Regions from separate parts of the Homo sapiens genome. Here region 1 is linked to region 2. The links are contacts of gene promoters, found by promoter capture Hi-C in human tissues and cell types (Jung and others, 2019). All regions are on one chromosome and are shown on one strand. Each heading gives the region's core, a stretch centred on a gene start or on the middle of the fragment in contact. The rest is flanking DNA. Distances are from core to core; before and after follow the strand shown. Region 1 holds the start of IRF7 (interferon regulatory factor 7). Region 2 overlaps TALDO1 (transaldolase 1).

Region 1 (2,526 bases), core at 1-2,500, 150 kb after region 2:
CCCCTGTCGTCATTAGCGCTTGAGCCCAGGTGTGCAGATGAGGCGGTGGGTCTGGCCACGCTGTCCCCACCCCAAGGCTGCAGCACTTCCCGTAAACCACCTGCAGTGCCCGCCGCCTTCCCGAGGCTCTGTGCCAGCTAGTCTGGGAAGTTCCTCTCCCGCTCTAACCACAGCCCGAGGGGGGCTCCCCTCCCCCGACCTGCACCGGAGATCTCAGGCACCCGGCTCATCTCAGACCTCCCGCTCCCGACCCTACACAGAGATTGCCTGGGGAGGCTGAGGAGCCGATGCAAACCCCCAAGGCGACGCACTTGGGAGCCGGTGGTCTCAAACACCTGCCGGGGGTCCTAGTCCCCTTCTGAAATCTACATGCTTGGGTTGGAGCGCAGCAGTAAACACCCTGCCCAGTGACCTGGACTGAGGCGCGCTGGGGGTGGGTGCGCCGTGTGGCCTGAGCAGGAGCCAGACCAGGAGGCCTAGGGGTGAGAGACACATTCCCCTCGCTGCTCCCAAAGCCAGAGCCCAGGCTGGGCGCCCATGCCCAGAACCATCAAGGGATCCCTTGCGGCTTGTCAGCACTTTCCCTAATGGAAATACACCATTAATTCCTTTCCAAATGTTTTAATTGTGAGAGTATCTGATATTCTTGACTGAACAATGTAAAAAACCCAAAGGGGGCTGCGCACGGCGGCTCTCGCCTAAATCCCAGCACTTTGGGAGGCCGAGGTGGGCAGATCACCTGAGGTCGGGAGTTCGACACCAGCCTGACCAACATAGAGAAACCCCGTCTCTACTAAAAATACAAAATTAGCCGGGCGTGGTGGTTCATGCCTGTAATCCCAGCTACTCGGGAGGCTTAGGTAGGAGAATCACTTGAACCCGGGAGGCGGAGGTTGTGGTGGGCCAAGATTGTGCCACCGCACTCCAGCCTGGGTAACAAAAGCGAAACTCCATCTCAAAAAAAGAAACGCAAACGGTGCAGCTGCCCCTTTTTCGAGGCACGTCCACCTCCCATTACCCACTTCCTTTTTTTTTTGAGACTGAGTCTTGCTCTGTCCCCTGGGCTGTAGTGGAGTGGCTCCATCTCGGCTCACTGCAGCCACTCCCAACGCCCTCCACTCCTCCCTACTCCGCGCTGGCCGGGGCGGGGTTCCGCTGGTCGCATCCAATAATAAGAACAGGCGGCGCGCGCCCTTCCCGGAAACTCCCGCCTGGCCACCATAAAAGCGCCGGCCCTCCGCTTCCCCGCGAGACGAAACTTCCCGTCCCGGCGGCTCTGGCACCCAGGTACTGGGGACCCCAGACCCACGCGGTGCAGGCCGGGAGCGAGAGCCTCCGTGGGGGCTCCGTGACCCCGGAGGGGTAGAGCCAAGAGCTGGGGGAGCCTGAGAGATGAGGGTCGGGCGGGGAGGGAGGCGGAGGCGGAGGCGGGGTTCCGCGGAGCTGAGAACCGGACGGGGTGGGATCGAGGAGGGTGCGAAGCGCCACTGTTTAGGTTTCGCTTTCCCGGGAGCCTGACCCGCCCCTGACGTCGCCTTTCCCGTCTCCGCAGGGTCCGGCCTGCGCCTTCCCGCCAGGCCTGGACACTGGTTCAACACCTGTGACTTCATGTGTGCGCGCCGGCCACACCTGCAGTCACACCTGTAGCCCCCTCTGCCAAGAGATCCATACCGAGGCAGCGTCGGTGGCTACAAGCCCTCAGTCCACACCTGTGGACACCTGTGACACCTGGCCACACGACCTGTGGCCGCGGCCTGGCGTCTGCTGCGACAGGAGCCCTTACCTCCCCTGTTATAACACCTGACCGCCACCTAACTGCCCCTGCAGAAGGAGCAATGGCCTTGGCTCCTGAGAGGTAAGAGCCCGGCCCACCCTCTCCAGATGCCAGTCCCCGAGCGCCCTGCAGCCGGCCCTGACTCTCCGCGGCCGGGCACCCGCAGGGCAGCCCCACGCGTGCTGTTCGGAGAGTGGCTCCTTGGAGAGATCAGCAGCGGCTGCTATGAGGGGCTGCAGTGGCTGGACGAGGCCCGCACCTGTTTCCGCGTGCCCTGGAAGCACTTCGCGCGCAAGGACCTGAGCGAGGCCGACGCGCGCATCTTCAAGGTGGGGACCCCAGCCCCGCCCCGCCCCGGGTGGGAGAGCCCGCCTAGGACCCCGCGGGCCCGGCACACGTGTTCTGTCCCCCTCTTCAGGCCTGGGCTGTGGCCCGCGGCAGGTGGCCGCCTAGCAGCAGGGGAGGTGGCCCGCCCCCCGAGGCTGAGACTGCGGAGCGCGCCGGCTGGAAAACCAACTTCCGCTGCGCACTGCGCAGCACGCGTCGCTTCGTGATGCTGCGGGATAACTCGGGGGACCCGGCCGACCCGCACAAGGTGTACGCGCTCAGCCGGGAGCTGTGCTGGCGAGGTGAGCGACGCCGGCTGCCAAGGGCGTTGGCATTCGTCCTGCTTGGGCAAAGGGGAACATTCTCTGGGTCAGATTTGTGGTTTTAGAAGCTGTTCTGGGAGAGGCTGCCAGCAGGCCCAGGAC
Region 2 (4,802 bases), core at 1,569-4,068:
TTGGCCCCAGCAAGGCTCACGCTGGAAGTGGGGTTCAGCCCACAGAGCCTTGGCTGATGACTTGAGTGAGATGTGTTAGGAAAGCCAAGCCCTCCGTTGAGGTCTACTTCACCCTCATGTCTCCCAAGATGAGCTCGCCCCACAGGTGGGAGGGATCACCCACAGGGCAGCGTGGCACGGCAGTGCTGGCCTTGCCCGAGCAGGAGCCACAGCTGGGCAGTGGGGCCTCACCCGCCTTGGCTGAGAGCACAGGCACCAGCTTGGCGTTGTCCTGCAGCAGCTCTCCCAGGAGCTTGGGTGAGATGGTGAGGAAGTCACAGCCGGCCAGTGCTTTGATCTCGCCCGTGTTGCGGAAGGAGGCGCCCATGACAATGGTTTTGTAGCTAAACTTCTTGTAGTAGTTGTAGATTTTAGTGACACTCTTTACCCCTGGAAAGAGACCAAGCTGTGACCAGGAAGGCTTCGGCAGAGGTACCACCCCACCTGCCCTCCCAGTGCCTGCCGGCTGCACTACCTTGAGCCGCCACCCCTGCCTGCCCCGCGCCGACCTGTGCACCTCACTGCTTGTTGATGCGGCAGCTCCGTCTCGGGCTCTTCCTGCCTGAGGTGCTGCTGAGGCTGCTCCCCTTACCCCATTACCACAGAGGGACCCTCACCAGGGTCTTCCAGGGGCTCATAGGATTTCTTGTCGGTGTTTGCCACATGCCAATCAAGGATGCGCCCAACAAATGGGGAGATGAGGGTCACACCCGCCTCGGCACAGGCCACAGCCTGGGCGAAGGAGAAGAGTAACGTCATGTTGCAGTGGATGCCGTGCTGCTCCTCGAGCTCCCTGCGGGGCGGGGACAGGTGAGGGCGGGGCAGGTGAGGGCGGGGACAGGTGAGGGCGGGGGCGGGTGAGGGCGGGGACGGTGAGGGCGGGGATGGGTGAGGGCGGGGGCGGGTGAGGGCGGGGGCAGGTGAGGGCGGGGCAGGTGAGGGCGGGGCAGGTGAATGCAGGCCAGGTGCCCACCCAGAGCCACAGGCTGCCAAAGACGCTCACGGGCCTTAAACTAAAAAGGCAGGAACAGGCTCATGCCATTGTTAAGAACAAATCGGTAAGACTCGAGGGCTCTAAGTGGATAGTGGGTTATGGGTGACCAGGATTTTCTCCAACCCACATGACACAATAGACAAAGGCAAGGGAGGCCCTCTGGGTGCCCGTGCTCTTGCGCCAGGCCGTCACCTCATCCCAGAACTCACCAGGGCTCAGCTCCCAGGCTAGAACCACTGAGTCATCTCTGACCACATTCCAGTCCTCACCCTGTTCCACCCTACCCATTCCTGGGGCCACCCTGCAGCAGGCCCGTAGCACCCTGGTTTCTGCTGAGAGGAGCCCCTTGGCCTCACTAGGCCACTTGCCCAAATCCCAGTGCACTTTGGACATCCTGGGGTTGATCCCCAAGGACGGAGCAGTGCCCATACTTTGCCATGTGGCTGGGGCATGGGATGAGACAGCCAAGGCTCTGCTCAGGCACCTTCAGACACAAGTTCCCTCCCCAGGCGCCTCTGCCACATGGCCACACGGGGGTGTTCGAGGGGGACAGCAGATGGCACAGCTGAGTTGGGAAACAGCCTGCAGTTCCTCCAGCAGTCACCCAGAGACTCCACTCCTAGGCATATGCCCACGAGAAACAAAAACACATGTCCAGGACAAAACTTGCACATCTGTGTTCAGAGCAGCAGATGTGTTCATAGCAGCAGATGTGTTCAGAGCAGCAGCATACATCACAGCCCGAGAAATGGAAACCGACCACAGCAATATACATCACAGCTCAAGAGATGGAAACTGACCAGGTGTCCACCAACAGATGAATAACTGTGGCCTATCCATAAAATGGAGTATTTTCCAACATATAAAAACAAATGGTCCGGCCAGGTGCAGTGGCTCAAACCTGTGATCCCAACACTTTGGGAGGCCGAGGCGGGCGGATCACCTGAGGCTGGGAGTTTGAGATCAGCCTGACTAACATGAGAAACCCCATCTCTACTAAAAATATAAAATTAGGCGGGAGTGGTGGCGCCTGCCTGTAATCCCAGCTACTCCGGAGGCTGAGGCAGGAGAATCTCTTGAACCCCAGAGGTGGAGGTTGCAGTGAGCTGAGATAGCACCATTGCACTCCAGCATGGACGAGAATGAAACTCCGTCTCAAAAACAAAAAAAAACAAAAAAACACACAAATGAGGCCAGGCACAATGGCTCATGCCTATAATCCCAGCACTTTGGGAGGCCAAGATGGGTAGAGATCTCTTGAGCCCAGGGGTTCGAGACCAGCCTGGGGAACGTGGTGAAATTACCCAGGAGTGGTATGTGTGCTTGTCATCCCAGCCACTTGGGGGACTGAGGTGGAAAGATAGCTTGAGCCTGGAGTCAAGGCTGCAGTGAGCCAAGTTCGTGCCACTGCACTCCAGCCGTGGTGAAAAAGTGAGATGCTATCTCAGAGCAGGTCAGTGATGGCAGGTGGTAGAACATGCAGACACACAGATGTGGAAACAAAACACCTCTTCCTGATGCGAATTATTTGAGTATAGCATTGGCTGCTTCTGGGTGAGAACATCATAGAGGAGTTTTACTTTGTTTTATACATTTTCTGTCTCTTCCACTCTGAACGTACATATGTTTGGTTTGGTTTTTCTGAGACAGGGTCTCACTCTGTCACCCAGGCTGGAGTGCAGTGGTACGATCATAGCTACTGGAACCTCAACTTCCCAGGCTCAAGCGATCCTCCCGCCTCAGCCTCCTAAGTAGCTGGAATCACAGGGGTGGGCTAGTTTTTCTTTTCTTTTTTTTTTTTTTTTTTGAGATGGAGTCTCATTCTGTCACCCAGGCTGGAGTACAATGGTGCAATCTCGGCTCACTGCAACGTCCACCTCCCAGGTTGAAGTGATTCTCCTGCTTCAGCCTCCCATGTAGCTAGGATTACAGGCACCTGCCACCACGCCCAGCTAAATTTTTTGTAGTTTTGGTAGAGACGGGGTTCCACTATCTTGGCCAGCCTGGTCTCGAACTCCTGACCTCAGGTGATCTACCCACCTCAGGCTTCCAGAGTGCTAGGATTACAGGTATGAGCCACCGTGCCCGGCCTAAAAGTTTTCTTTTCTTTTTGAGACAGAGTCTTGCTCTGTCACCCAGACTGGAGTGCAGTGGTGTGATCTCAGCTAACTGCAACCTTCGCCTCCTGGGTTCAAGCAATTCTCCTGCCTCAGCCTCCTAAATGGGACTACAGGTGTGTGCCACCATGCCCGGCTAATTTTTTATATTTTTTAGTGGAGTCGGGGTTTCACCGTGTTAGCCAGGATGGTCTCGATCTCCTGACCTCGTGATCCCCACGCCTCGGCCTCCCAAAGTGCTGGGAGCCACCGTGCCCAGCCTAAAATTTCTTTATATTTTTGTAGAGACAAGGTTTCACTTTGTTGCCCAGGCTGGTCTGGAACTCCTGGGCTCAAGTGATCCTCCCATCTCAGCCTCCCAAATTGCTGGGATTACAGGCATGAGCCATCTTGCCCAGCCAGCATATATTTTATATAACAATAGTTTACTTTTTAAAAATCATGTAAACATAGGCTTGTGTTGATCAGGACAGAGGAAGGACAGAATCTGAATCTGCAGGTGCTAACTAGTGGCTTTTCTTCTCTGCTGAGTGGGTGGATGGTACTTCCTGGGAAATCCCTCATTTCTGATCACCAGCAAGTGAGGGAGCTGGCTCTGGAGCAGAGGGCAGATCTAGGCTGACATGAGCTGGTCAAGTCCAAGCTGTGGGCTGTGCTCCCCAGTCTGGCATTCCCCAGGGCTGAGAGAGTCAAACTTGCCTGATGCCATGTAGACCCTGCTCCAACAGAGGAAAAATCTCTGAGAGCTCCTTCCTTGTGGGGGACCACTTACTTTCCAGCCTGAATTCCTTCCCAGGTTGATGACAGCTTTATAAGAATTCGGTCCTTGCTGATCCCAGCTTCCTTGTAGAGCTCGATGAGCCGCCTGGCTCTGGCCACCATCGCATCTTTATCAAAGGAGAGCCTGTAGGAGCAAGAAGAACCCATCCCCTCAGATCACGCAGGTTGCCCACCACGCAGAGCAAGCTGGAGGCCGGGTGTCTGCCTGTCAGTTTTGAGCAGCACCACCGTGAGCACCAACCACTGCCCTCAACCTTCCCCTCACTGGAGGTTTGCAGAATGGCTCTGACAGCAACTCACACCCAGTCTCACAAACAGAGGTCCTCAGTGGGATCCATAGGCTATAATTTGTATTAAAAAACACTGGGCCAGGTGCCGTGGCTCACGCCTGTAATCCCAACACTTTGGGAGGCTGAGGCGGGAAGATCACAAGGTCAAGGGATCGAGACCATCCTGGCCAACATGGTGAAACCCTGTCGCTACTAAAAATACAAAAAAATTAGCTGGGTATGGTGGCGGGTGTCTGTAGTCCCAGCTACTTGGGAGGCTGAGGCAGGAGAATCGCTTGAACCCGGGAGGTGAAGGTTGCAGTGAGCTGAGATCACACCACTGCACTCTACACTGGCAACAGAGCGAGACTCTGTCTCAAAAAACAAACAAAACAAATCAAAACAAAAAACACTAGCAGCCGGGCACAGTGGCTCATGCCTGTGATCCCAGCACTTTGGGAGGCCGAGGCAGGTGGATCATGACGTCAGGAGTTCAAGACCAGCCTGGCCAAAATGGTCAAACCCCATCTCTATTAAAAATACAACAAATTAGCTGGGCATGGTGGCAGGTGCCTGTAATCTCAGCTACTTGGGAGGCTGAGG

Evidence for each region. The method cuts DNA at HindIII sites, captures the fragments that hold promoters and counts their contacts. A contact is called where the count stands out against the background at its distance.
Region 1: the fragment with the promoter of IRF7 here is called in contact with a fragment that was not itself captured in region 2 in 3 of the 25 tissues and cell types used here (H1 embryonic stem cells, dorsolateral prefrontal cortex and spleen).

The regions. Positions count from the first base shown.
Region 1 is chr11:614,674-617,199 of GRCh38, reverse strand. It overlaps IRF7 (interferon regulatory factor 7), which reads left to right and starts at 1,250. Exons shown (of 11, transcript NM_001572.5): 1 at 1,250-1,287; 2 at 1,553-1,855; 3 at 1,941-2,103; 4 at 2,193-2,403. The coding sequence starts at 1,836. It overlaps CDHR5 (cadherin related family member 5), which reads left to right. Exons shown (of 15, transcript NM_021924.5): 15 at 1-617. RefSeq lists an enhancer at 1,794-2,388. The HindIII fragment of the contact is 18,510 bases long and covers 1-2,526 here.
Region 2 is chr11:759,374-764,175 of GRCh38, reverse strand. TALDO1 (transaldolase 1) reads right to left here. Exons shown (of 8, transcript NM_006755.2): 4 at 3,923-4,054; 5 at 657-832; 6 at 232-429. Among named protein-coding and RNA genes, the nearest start is that of TALDO1, 14 kb to the right of the region's middle. RefSeq lists an enhancer at 389-1,588. The HindIII fragment of the contact is 7,127 bases long and covers 1-4,802 here.